Linked DNA regions of Homo sapiens: region 2 is linked to region 1. Evidence: promoter capture Hi-C in human tissues and cell types (Jung and others, 2019). All regions are on one chromosome and are shown on one strand. Each heading gives the region's core, a stretch centred on a gene start or on the middle of the fragment in contact. The rest is flanking DNA. Distances are from core to core; before and after follow the strand shown. Region 1 holds the start of NPRL2 (NPR2 like, GATOR1 complex subunit). Region 2 has its middle 16 kb from the start of CCDC71.

Region 1 (5,855 bases), core at 335-2,834:
ACAGGCGCGTGCCACCATGCCCGGCTAATTTTTTGTATTTTTAGTAGAGACGGGGTTTCACCATGTTGGCCAAGATGGTCTCGATCTCCTGACCTCAGGTGATGTGCCCGCCTCGGCCTCTAAGTGCTGGGATTACAGGCATGAGCCACCGTGCCCAGCCTCAAGTCTGAAATATATACCATGGGCAGGAGTAGTTGGAGCATGCAACTCTTCCAAACAGATATTAAATGTGGACAAAGATTCAGAGGCTGCCAGGGCCACCAACCATGCCCATGCTCCCACCCCTAAGAACTGCCCAGGCCCACTACTTACAGCCAAAGACATAAGCACCGGGTGCCAGGAGAACAGGCCTGGAATGAGAAGAGGAGGCCTCATGGGGCTGAGGCAAGAAGAAACCAGCCATACCAATCCTTAAGGGTTGAGGAATACCAGCAGCCCATCACCCAAGGAGGTGCTGCCAAACTGTGAGCCCCTTCTTGCTCTGCAACAAGCTGACCCCACACCTATCCTCTCTTCCTGGCCTCTTCCTGGATCAGAGGCCATGCTTTGCCACTCCTCTGGCAGTCCTCCCTCCTTCCCTTACACCTCCTGAGAGGCAGCCAAATGGAGCACCCAGAGAAGGAAAGACAAACCAGGAATTCTGTGTGCCCTGGCCATACCTACCTGCTCCACCTCACTCATCGCTCCAGCACAGAATTCCCTCAACCAGCCAGGCCTGTTCCCGGAAGTCCCACTGCCCTTCCTCCCCAGGAACAGTGGCCCTTCCCTTCCCAGAAGTCAGCTATGAATTCTACTTACTGGAGCCAGGCCTGGCAAGCACAGCCACAAAGATGGTAAAGCCCAGGGCCACAAGGTGGGCGGCAGCGCCAGAAGCAGTACGCAGAGCTCGGTAGATGTGTGACTCGGTCTCCGCAGAAAGGGCCATCGTCAGCCGTGCTAGTGGTTGTAGCCTGAAAGCATAGTAGCGTGGGCCAGGATCTCAGGTGCCCACTGTTCACTCCTCACTGGAGAAAAGGCTGCAAGGCAGGAATGCCACCCTCTTCCAATAAGTTATGGTAGGAAAGAACAGTACCAAGACCAGCACCAGGAATGGTCACAACATGCCAGTCGACGGCCGGCGGCCTGTCAACGTGTACCCATGTCTGAACTGGTACCAATCGCTGGCCCGCCTTCCAGGTAGGAGGCGCAAAGCCATGTAAGACTACAAATCCCAGCGTGTACCACGCCGTCGCCGGCAGTAGAGCCAGCTGGGAGGGCGCGGAGCACTATGGAAATTGTAGTTCCCTGCTGCGGTCCCAGTTACAGCGTGAATCCCTTAGCGCACCGCCTCCCCAAGTGCTGCCAGCATGCTGCCCCTCCACGCTAGGGACTTGCCTGCCTCTGCCGCAGCGCAGATCTGATGCGGTGGTTTCCTCCAAAGAAAGCGGGATACTCCGGGCCCTGCCGCGCGCACCGCCGCTCCGTCACGGAGCCGCTTTACTTCCGGGTGCGACGTCTACCCACCCAGGACTTCCTGGGACGAGCCGTCCCCCGCCCCAGCCACGCCTCTGAGTCGCGCTGCGCAGGCGCCATTGGGCAGAGGGATTGGCAAGCTTGCGTGCCCCAGCGACACAGGCCTCGAGGCTGTCTCTGACAAGTGTTCACAGGAGGTGGGGACGCCTCTGCGCGAGGAACGAGGAGCTACGGGCCTGGGCCCGGTTATTGCCATGGGCAGCGGCTGCCGCATCGAATGCATATTCTTCAGCGAGTTCCACCCCACGCTGGGACCCAAGATCACCTATCAGGTGCCACCCGGGCTCGCGGGACTGGGCGGGAAGAGGGACGTTCTCGAGAGCTCAACTGGCTGCCTGAAGGCAGTAGTTTCCCGTGCTGCACGCAGGCATGCTGCTTCATTCGCAGACAACTGTGAGGCTAGAGGATAGTCAGACCCAGGCCCCCGGCTCCCAATGTGGCAGGGAAGACATACGTCACATTGGCAGTGTTTGTAGGATATCGGGCTGTAGGGATCCGGTTGGGGGGTTCCAGGTCCCACAGAAGGTGAGTTGGGTGACCCATGAGTATCCCTGAACTGAGTGAAGAGTAAATGATGCATAGGAAGTTTAGGTAAGGCAGGAGAAAGTGTTCCAGGTAGAGGGAACAGCATATGCAGAAGCCAGGAAGGAGGTGAGATCATAGCGTATGTTTGGAAACAGAAAGAAGTAATAGGCCTGAGTGGATGGGAGAGAGGGGAACGCTGGAGAAGAGGACTTGGGCTTGGGGGGCATGAGGAGGTCACCATTTGTACTACACCCAGTACAGATGTCCACTGAGGGGCCCATTGCCACTCCCCTCCCCAGGTCCCTGAAGACTTCATCTCCCGAGAGCTGTTTGACACAGTCCAAGTGTACATCATCACCAAGCCAGAGCTGCAGAACAAGCTTATCACTGTGTGAGACCCTAGCTCGGGGTGAGCGGTGGGTGGCAGGGGTTGTCCCAGGAGGAGGAAGGGACAGGCTTGGGGGCCTGACTGTGTTCCAATTATCCAGCACAGCTATGGAAAAGAAGCTGATCGGCTGTCCTGTGTGCATCGAACACAAGAAGTACAGCCGCAATGCTCTCCTCTTCAACCTGGGCTTCGTGTGTGATGCCCAGGCCAAGACCTGCGCCCTCGAGCCCATTGTTAAAAAGCTGGCTGGCTATCTGACCACACTAGAGGTCTGCAATGAGATGGGCTTGGGTTTACCGACAGGCAGAGTTGGGGAAGGTGTTCCCATGTCTCCAAAGTCCCCCAAACCTGGGACCCTGCAAACCAGCTCAGGACTCAGGGCAGCCAACCAGCCAGGGGTCCTGGGATGTGCCCACCATGCTTTCCATGCTCTGTCTAGCTAGAGAGCAGCTTCGTGTCCATGGAGGAGAGCAAGCAGAAGTTGGTGCCCATCATGACCATCTTGCTGGAGGAGCTAAATGCCTCAGGCCGGTGCACTCTGCCCATTGGTATGGCCAGCCTCTGCAAGGACAGCAGAGGGGTAGAGGAGAGATGGGAAAGTGAACCCAGCTAGTCAGGGAGAAGGGCAAGACTCATGAACACATTGGTGGGCAGGAAATAGCCATGGGCTGAGGTGCCCATGTCCAGGGTCCAATGCATGATGGAGCTGGGACTGGGGGTAGGGGGAAAGCAGAGCTCTCCAGCTCTGCCCCTTGGGCAATTCCTTCCCCTTTGTGGGCCTCCGTTTCTCACTCCATAAAAAGAGAAAGATTAGCCCTACCCAGAGGCACCTGCTTGCCCCAAGGGATGCTGGGAGGCCTGGATGGTAATTGAGGACCTCTTGGAAGAAGTGGCACTGAGGATATGGATGGGGCCCCCTGCAGATGAGTCCAACACCATCCACTTGAAGGTGATTGAGCAGCGGCCAGACCCTCCGGTGGCCCAGGAGTATGATGTACCTGTCTTTACCAAAGACAAGGAGGATTTCTTCAACTCACAGTGGGACCTCACTACACAACAAGTATGCCATCCCTCCCTGGGTATCATCACCTGGGGCTGGCCACAGCCCTGGCCTCATCCTGTTTCTTCTGACCTTGTCCCACTCTGCCCAGATCCTGCCCTACATTGATGGGTTCCGCCACATCCAGAAGATTTCAGCAGAGGCAGATGTGGAGCTCAACCTGGTGCGCATTGCTATCCAGAACCTGCTGTGAGTGGGCCTACAGTCATACCTGGGACAAGGTCACCAGCCAGGGAAGACCTCAGGGGCCCTGGGTGTGAGGGTTGGGAAGGCATGGTCCTCAGAAGCTGAGCACAGCTCTCTCTCTCAGGTACTACGGCGTTGTGACACTGGTGTCCATCCTCCAGGTAGGTGAGTTGGGTTTGGTTAAGTGGAGAGTGGATCATGTGGCTGGACCAGACCAGGGCTGTGTCAGCTTCCCAAGCCCCTCACTCAGGCCCCTATGCCTTCTGCTACCCTCTAGTACTCCAATGTATACTGCCCAACGCCCAAGGTCCAGGACCTGGTAGATGACAAGTCCCTGCAAGAGGCATGTCTATCCTACGTGACCAAGCAAGGTAGTGGTGGGTTCTGGGGGAAGCCATCTTGGGGAGGGCAGGGCCACATGATGAGCTGATCCCTGGCACCCACAGGGCACAAGAGGGCCAGTCTCCGGGATGTGTTCCAGCTATACTGCAGCCTGAGCCCTGGCACTACCGTGCGAGACCTCATTGGCCGCCACCCCCAGCAGCTGCAGCATGTTGATGAACGGTCAGAGGAGAATTTGCTGGGGCATTTGGGAGTTACCTGAGGGAAGCTAGACCCTTTATGTCTCTCAGGAGCCCTGGATCATGGGGCACTGCCAATCCAAGCAGGCTTCCTGGAGATGATGGGCTACAGAGACAAAATTGAAGGGAGACTACAGGAAAGGGTTGGCCTGCCTGAAAGAAGGCCTGGCCAGGGCGTCACCCCGTCCTCTGATCCTCACCCTAGGAAGCTGATCCAGTTCGGGCTTATGAAGAACCTCATCAGGCGACTACAGAAGTATCCTGTGCGGGTGACTCGGGAAGAGCAGAGCCACCCTGCCCGGCTTTATACAGGCTGCCACAGCTATGACGAGATCTGCTGCAAGACAGGTGGAGGCAGGCGGGCAGTCAGGGTGGGTTCAGGGCAGGGTGGCCAGGCCAAGGCCACTGACCTCTCCTCCACCACCCCACCCAGGCATGAGCTACCATGAGCTGGATGAGCGGCTTGAAAATGACCCCAACATCATCATCTGCTGGAAGTGAGGCTGGTAGTGACTGGATGGACACATTGCTGTGGGTAGTCCCTCCTACTAGGAGGCTTGTCATACTGTCTAGAGGTTGACTCTTAGTTCTGTAAATAAAGACATCCATTTCAAACAGCCTTTATTGAGTGCTGTTTCTGGGCCAGCCGTGGGAGACCCAGCAGTGAATGAAATAGCCACGAGCCGTGGGCTAGATCGCCATCTGGTGGGCAGGACCGACAATCGACAAATAAAAGTGCCGGTTAATTACAAAAAAAAAAAAAAAAAAAAAAAAAAATCGTCCTGATGCGGTGACTCACCTGTAGCCCCAGCTACTCAGGAGGCTGAAGTGGGGGGATCATTTGAGGCCACGAGTTGGAGGCTACATTTAGCTGTGATCCCATCACTGCACCCCAGCCTGGGTGACAGAGCAAGACCCCATCTCAATAATAATAATAATAATAAATAAACCTAGAAAGAAGCAGATGTAGCCAGGCGCGGTGGCTCATGCCTATAATCCCAGCACTTTGGGAGGCTGAAGCGGGCAGATCACCTGAGGTCAGATGTTCAAAAACAGCCTGGCCAACATAGTGAAACCCCATCTCCACTAAAAAAAAATACAAAAAATTAGCCAGGTGTGGTGGTGCACACCTGTAATCCCAGCTACTCAGGAAGCTGAGGCAGGAGAATCACTTGAACCTGGGAGGCAGAGGTTGCAGTGAGCCAAGATCATGCCACTGCACTCCAGCCTAGGTGACAGGAGACTCAATTTCAAAAAAAGATGTGATCAAGAGTGAGTTGGGTTGGAGGCAGGGACTGCTCTGGATTAAATGGCCAAGAAAGGCCATGCTGAGGTGTAAACTGAGCCCTGAAGGAAAAGTATTCCAGGCAAAGTGCAAAACTCTGAGGCAAAAACCTCTTTGGAATGTATGAGGGAGGTTCAGGGAAGCAAGGAGGAGAGGAAAGAATCCAAGTCCCGAGGTACAGGAGAGGACAAGAAGTAGATCTTGCAGAGCTGCTAGTAAGCGGCATCCCACCTAACATTTTGAGGGCCAGAAGTAGCCACAGAGCCCCTCTCACGCAAGGGAGTAATGTCTATATGCTTTTTTTTTTTTTTTGAGACG
Region 2 (6,472 bases), core at 2,421-4,920, 1.2 Mb after region 1:
TGCAGGTGTGACCCCAGGGTTCAGGTCCCTGGTACTCATGTCTGTTATCCCTCCAGTGGTACCTGTCACTGCAAATGCTTTGTCTCTGGGCAGGACGGTAGCCATTGTCTGGTGAGGCTTGGCCCACCTTCTGATTTAACCTTGACCTTTGGCACTGAGCTTCTTGGAGCTATAGCCTTATAATGAGTATAAGGCTATAGTTATCATGACTGTGGACTGAGCCTTGTACTTGGGTGGGTGCCGCTCACTGACTTGGTCACCAGGGTCAGCATCACTTTGGCTAGCTGAACCTGTATATGCCCTCAGGTGGGAGTTTCGGAAACAAAAGGGAAATTGATTAAACTTGTATTATACACTGGATTTAAAGGCTTTTGTCTTTGTTTTTGTTTTTGAGACAGAGTCTTGTCTTGCTCTGTCACCCAGGCTGGAGTGCAGTGGTGCAACCTCGGCTCGCTGCAACCTCCACCTCCCGAGTTCAAGCGATTCTCATGCCTTAGCCTCCTGTGTAGCTGGAATTACAGGCACACACCACCACACCTGGCTAATTTTTGTATTTTTAGTAGAGGCGAAGTTTTACCATGTCAGCCACGCTGGTCTCCAACTCCTGACCTCAAATGATCTGCCCGCCTTGGTCTCCCAAAGTGCTGGGATTACTCGTGTGAGCCACCACACCCGGCCAAAGGTGTTTTTTTGTTTTGTTTTGTTTTGTTTTGTTTTTTTTCCAGCAAACTTGTTTAGAGGAAGACTTAGTCCAAGGAATAACTCCATCCTCTCTTTGCCTCGAATGTTACAAACTCTTTGCTTAACTTTTTTTTTTTTTTTGAGATGGAGTCTCACTCTGTCACCCAGGCTGGAGTGCAGTGGCGCAATCTCAGCTCACTGCAACCTCTGCCTCCTGGGTTCAAGTGATTCTCCTGCCTCAGCCTCTCGAGTAGCTGGGATTACAGGCAACCGCAACCACGCCCGGCTAATTTTTTTTTTTTTTTAAGTAGAGACGGGGTTTCACCATCTTGGCCAGGCTGGTCTCGAACTCCTGACCTCGTGATCCACCCACCTTAACCTCCCAAAACGCTAGGATTACAGGCGTGCGCCACTGTGCCCGGCCTCTTGGCTTAACTTTTATTTAACCCTGGTTGTGTCCTCATCTCCTTCTTATGTCTCTCTGTGAAGTTACTCAGGAGTGCACCATGATCTTCTCTCTCACTTTCAGATGCAGTCAGAGGAACATTCAGGCCCTTTCTCACCCCTTTTCCCACCATAGGCAGACCCAATATAAGACTTATCAGGCCCCTCCCCTCCTCTTCCTGTCCAGATCTTCTTGCCTTCCCCAACCCAACTACAGTCTCCTACAGCCTGAGTTCTAGGGTCTGGGCAGTGACCCCGCCCCCACCCAGGCTGCTGGCCCTGTGACTTTAACTTTGCAGATGCTACAGTAACAGGTACAGGGCGGGGCCTGGAATTCATGGTCAAATGGCAAGAATCAAGACTTCACCCTGACCCCTCCTCACCTCTGTGCTCCCTCAGGTATTCTGCAGTGGTGAGTCTCTGCATATCCCACCCCCACCTCTGTGGCTGCCACTGCCATGAGCACTAATCTGGGTATTTCTTTTTCTTTTTTTTTCTTTTTTTTTAATTTGAGACAGCGTCTTGCTGTGTCGCCCAGGCAGGGTGGCATGCAATGACACAAACTCAGCTCACTGCAACCTCCGCCTCCCGGGTTCAAGCGATTCTCCTGCCTCAGTCTCCCGAGTAGCTGAGATTACAAGCATGCACCACCACACCTGGCGAATTTTTGTATTTTTAGTAGAGACGAAGTTTCACCATATTGGCTAGGCTGGTCTCGAACTCCTGACCTCAGGTGATCCGCCCACCTTGGCCTCTCAAAGTGCTGGGATTATAGGCGTGCCACATGGCGCCTGGTCTAATCTGGGTATTTCTGTGCTGCCCTTGGCCACAGCTGAAGCCAAACTTGGCCAGGTTCTCCAGCAAGTATAAGTATCAGGAGGGTCAGAAGCAGAAAGAAATCAAAGCTCAGACACTGGGGCTCACTGGAAGAAGTGAACGTCCAGATAACTATTTGGAGGAAGAGTCTGAGCAGGGTTGGAAAGACTTGGAAATCCAGGTATGGGTGTCAGCATGGTCAAAAGTTCAGTGTCTTGGACAGAGGCCATATTATTCCCAGGACAGTATGGGAAAGGACTAGGACTCCCACTTCCTTCGAGGGAGCCCCCTGGCCTGCTCCTTTCCACTGTACAGAAGCCCCAGGGACTGCCTCTGACTGGCTTCAGCCCCGACTTCAGAGATAGCATCACGCTGTTTTTTGTTTTGTTTTGTTTGTTTGTTTGTTTGTTTTGAGATGGAATTTCACTCTTGTCGTCCAGGCTGGAGTGCAATGGCATGATCTTGGCTCATTGCAACCTGTGCCTCCTGGGTTCAAGCTATTTTCCTGCCTCAGCCTCCCAAATCACTGGGATTACAGGTGCCTGCCACCACACGTGACTAGTTTTTGTATTTTTAGTAGATACGGGGTTTCACCTTGTTGGCCAGGCTGGTCTCGAACTCCTGACCTCAGGTGATCTGCCCGCCTTGGCTTTCCAAAGTGCTGGGATTACAGGCATGAGCCACCACACCTGGATGATAGCATGACCCTTGATGTGCCCTCCACCCTGTCTGGCAAGACCATTACAGGCACCAGCTGCCCAAAGTGAGGAGTCTGGGGAACAAGATGAAGTCACAGGTCACTAGGATCTTAAGAGGGATAAGGGCCTGGGAATACAGATCCTTGGGTTCTTGAGGGAATGGGAGTCTAAGCCCTGAGGGTCGTAGGTCCTGGAATGGGAAGTCTGTGTCTCACATGCAGGCCCCAGAAAAGCCCTTTCCCCTGCATGGGCAGCTGGTCCTGTATTTTGGACTGGCTTGACTTTGCCCATGTGGTCAGTGAGGGTTGCCCTTCTCTCCTGGTGCCCATTGGTGCCTCATGCCCTGTAGTATGACATTGTCCTGCTCTATGAAACCTAGGTCAGTGGTGTGGATGTCAGGAGTGTGGATGGGTGGTGGTAGGGATGGATAGGAGTGGCTCTGTGACTGCTGACCCCTAACCCCAGGAACCTGAAGACTGTCAGGCATTAGTCAGTGTCTGTGCCCAATTCCTGCCCAGCAGCACCCACTGTGCCCATCTGCTGCCCTCAGAGCAGCTGTTTCAGGTGGCCCTGCTTCGTGCACACAGCTAGGCAAGACCCTGTGACCCCCAACCCTGTCACTCCCAATACCAGGACCCCATTATGCTGCCCACACATTTGAAACACACCAAACCGTCAGTATGGCATATCATCATGTCGTAAAACAAGCAAAACAGGTACTTAGTTTAACAATAAAGCAGGATTTAAGAAGTTGGTCTTTTTCCATTCATGATGAAATGTTGGGCTCACTAAGTGCACAATAGAAATGAGGCATCCCAGCTGGGCACAGTGGCTCATGCCTGTAATCTCAGCACTTTGGGAGGACAAGGTGGGCGGATCACCTGAGGTCAGAAGTTCCATACCAGCCTGGCCAACATGGTGAAACCCTGTTTCTTTTTTTTTTTTCTCTTTGAGACAGAGTTTCGCTCTTTTTGCCCAGGCTGGAGTGCAATGGCACGATCTTGGCTCACTGCAACCTCCGCATCCTGGGTTCAAGCAATTCTCCTGCCTCAGCCTCCCCAGTAGCTGGGATTACAGGTGCCCGCCACCACGCCCGGCTAATTTTTTGTATTTTTAGTAGAGACGGGGTTTCACCATGTTGGCCAGGATGGTCTCGATCTCCTGACCTCATGATCCGCCTGCCTCGACCTCCCAAAGTGCTGGGATTACAGGCGTGAGCCACCGCGCCCTGCTTTTTTTTTTTTTTTTTTTTTTGAGATAGAGTTTCTCTCTTGTTGCCCAGGCTGGAGTGCAATGGTGGGATCTCAGCTCACCGCAACCTCCGCCTCCCGGGTTCAAGCAGTTCTCCTGCGTTAGCCTCCTGAGTAGCTGGGATTACAGGTACGTGCCACCACACCCAGCTAATTTTGTATTTTTAGTAGAGATGGGGTTTCTCCCTGTTGGTCAGGTTGGTCTCCAACTCTCATCATCAGGTGATCTGCCCGCCTCAGCCTCCCAAAGTGCTGGGATTACAGGTGTGAGCCACAGCGCGTGGCTTTTTTTTTTTTTTTTTTTGAGACTTTGAGACGGAGTCTCACTTTGTCACCAGGCTGGAGTGCAGTGGCACGATCTCGGCTCATTGCAACCTCCACTTCCTGGGTTCAAGCGATTCTCCTGCCTCAGCCTACCAAGTAGGTGGGACTACAGGCGCGTACCACCATGCCCAGCTAATTTTTGTATTTTTAGTAGAGACGGGGTTTCACTATGTTGGCCAGGATGGTCTCGATCTCTTGACATTGTGATTGTCCCGCCTCAGCCTCCCAAAGTGCTGGGATTACAGGCATGAACCACCGCACCCGGCCGAAACCCCATTTCTACTAAAAATACAAAAATTAGCCTGGCGTGGTGGCACACACCTGTACTCCCAGCTACTCGGGAGGCTGAGGTGGGACTGAGCCGAGATCGCGCCACTGCACTCCAGACTGGACGACAGAGCGAGCCTCCATCAAAAAAAAAGAAGAAGAAAAAGGAAAGAAAGAAAGGACGGAGGGAGGGAGGAAGGAAGGAAGGAACGAAGGAAGGAAGGAAGGAAAGAAGGAAGGAAGGAAGGAAGCATGGAGGCATCTCTGGGACCACATGATCATTGCAGCATCACCTCACCTCTTCTCCTCTCCCCATTCACTGCAGGGTTGTGGTTCTATACAGACTTTCTGCTTTGATCCAGGAACATGCTGCTACTCCACGACACAGGCTATGGCAGACCAAGAGGGAGTGTGGAGGACTGAGGGAAGCTTCATCCATCTGCATTCAGTGATGTCCTAGGGGCTGCACCCTACATCTGGCAGAGACATAATTTTTTTTTTTTTTTTTTGAGAGGGAGTCTCGTTCTTGTCACCCAGGCTGGAGTGCAATGGAGCAATCTTAGCTCACTGCAACCTCCGCCTCCCAGGTTCAAGCAGTTCTGCCTCAGCTTCCTGAGTAGCTGGGATTACAGGTGCCCACTGCCACACCCGGCTAATTTTTTTTTTTTTTTTTTTTTGAGACGGAGTCTTACTCTTTTGCCCAGGCCTGAGTGCAGTGGCGCTGTCTCGGCTCACTGCAAGCTCCGCCTCCTGGGTTCACGCCATTCTCCTGCCTCAGCTTCCCGAGTGGCTGGGACTACAGGCGCCCGCCACCATGCCTGGCTAATTTTTTGTATTTTTAGTAGAGACGGGGTTTCACTGTGTTAGCCGGGATGGTCTCGATCTCCTGACCTCGTGATCCGCCCGCCTCGGCTTCCCAAAGTGCTAGGATTACAGGTGTGAGCCACTGCGCCTGGCCTTTTTAAAATTTTTTTATATATTTATTTATTTTTTGAGATGGAGTTTCTCTCTTGTTGCCCAGGCTGGAGTGCAGTGATGTGATCTCTGCTCACTGCAACCTCTGCCTCCCAGGTTCTAGCGATTCTCCTGCCTCAGCCTCCTGAGTAGCTGGGACTACAGGCGCATGCTACCATACCTGGCTAATTTTTTTTTTTTTTTTTTTTTTAGTAGAGGTGGGGTTTCACCATGTTAGCCAGGATGGTCTCAATCTCCTGACCTTGTGATCCGCCCAACTCGGCCTCCCAAAATGCTGGGATTACAGGCTTGAGCCACCGCACCTGGCTACCCGGCTAATTTTTGTATTTTTAGTAGAGTTGGGGTTTCACCATATTGGCCAGGCTGGTCACGAACTCCTGACCTCAGGTGATCTGACCACCTTGGCCTCCCAAAGTGCTGGGATTATAGGTGTGAGCCACTGCGCCTGGCTCAGAGACATAAATTTTATTTTATTTATTTTAATTTTTTTGAGATGGAGTCTCACTCTGTTGCCCAGGCTGGAGTGCAGTGGCGCAATCTTGGCTCACTGCAAGCTCCGCTTCCTGGGTTCATGCCATTCTCCTGCCTCAGCCTCCTGAGTAGTAGCTGGGACTACAGGCGCCCGCCACCATGCTTGGCTAATTTTTTTGTATTTTTAGTAGAGACGGGGTTTGACTGTGTTAGCCAGGATGATCTCCATCTCCTGATCTCATGGTCCGCCCACCTCGGCCTCCAAAAGTGCTGGGATTACAGGCATGAGCCACTGTGCCTGGCCAATTTTATTTTTTTATTTTATTTTATTTTATTATTATTATTATTTTTTGAGATGGAGTCTTGCTCTGTCACCCAGGCTGGAGTGCAGTGGCGCTATCTTGGCTCACTGCAAGCTCCGCCTCCCACGTTCACACCATTCTCCTTCCTCAGCCTCCCAAGTAGCTGGGACTACAGGTGCCTGCCACTGCGCCCAGCTAATTTTTTGTTTTTGTATTTTTAGTAGAGATGGGGTTTCACCGTGTT

Evidence for each region. Contacts are between HindIII fragments. The study calls those that stand out against the background at their distance.
Region 2: a fragment that was not itself captured here is called in contact with the fragment with the promoter of NPRL2 in region 1 in 1 of the 25 tissues and cell types used here (pancreas).

What each region holds. Positions count from the first base shown.
Region 1 is chr3:50,346,504-50,352,358 of GRCh38, reverse strand. It overlaps NPRL2 (NPR2 like, GATOR1 complex subunit), which reads left to right and starts at 1,584. Exons shown (of 11, transcript NM_006545.5): 1 at 1,584-1,784; 2 at 2,337-2,428; 3 at 2,526-2,694; 4 at 2,865-2,973; 5 at 3,349-3,485; 6 at 3,577-3,674; 7 at 3,796-3,832; 8 at 3,949-4,042; 9 at 4,118-4,235; 10 at 4,458-4,600; 11 at 4,686-5,029. The coding sequence starts at 1,707. The coding sequence ends at 4,753. CYB561D2 (cytochrome b561 family member D2) reads right to left here and starts at 1,497. Exons shown (of 4, transcript NM_001291284.2): 1 at 1,375-1,497; 2 at 799-950; 3 at 313-350. The coding sequence starts at 925. It overlaps LOC127898564 (CYB561D2-LOC101928965), which reads right to left and starts at 1,497. Exons shown (of 5, transcript NR_183066.1): 1 at 1,375-1,497; 2 at 799-950. RefSeq lists an enhancer at 1,323-1,542. The HindIII fragment of the contact is 1,502 bases long and covers 504-2,005 here.
Region 2 is chr3:49,146,747-49,153,218 of GRCh38, reverse strand. It overlaps the pseudogene LAMB2P1. Among named protein-coding and RNA genes, the nearest start is that of CCDC71, 16 kb to the left of the region's middle. The HindIII fragment of the contact is 6,447 bases long and covers 447-6,472 here.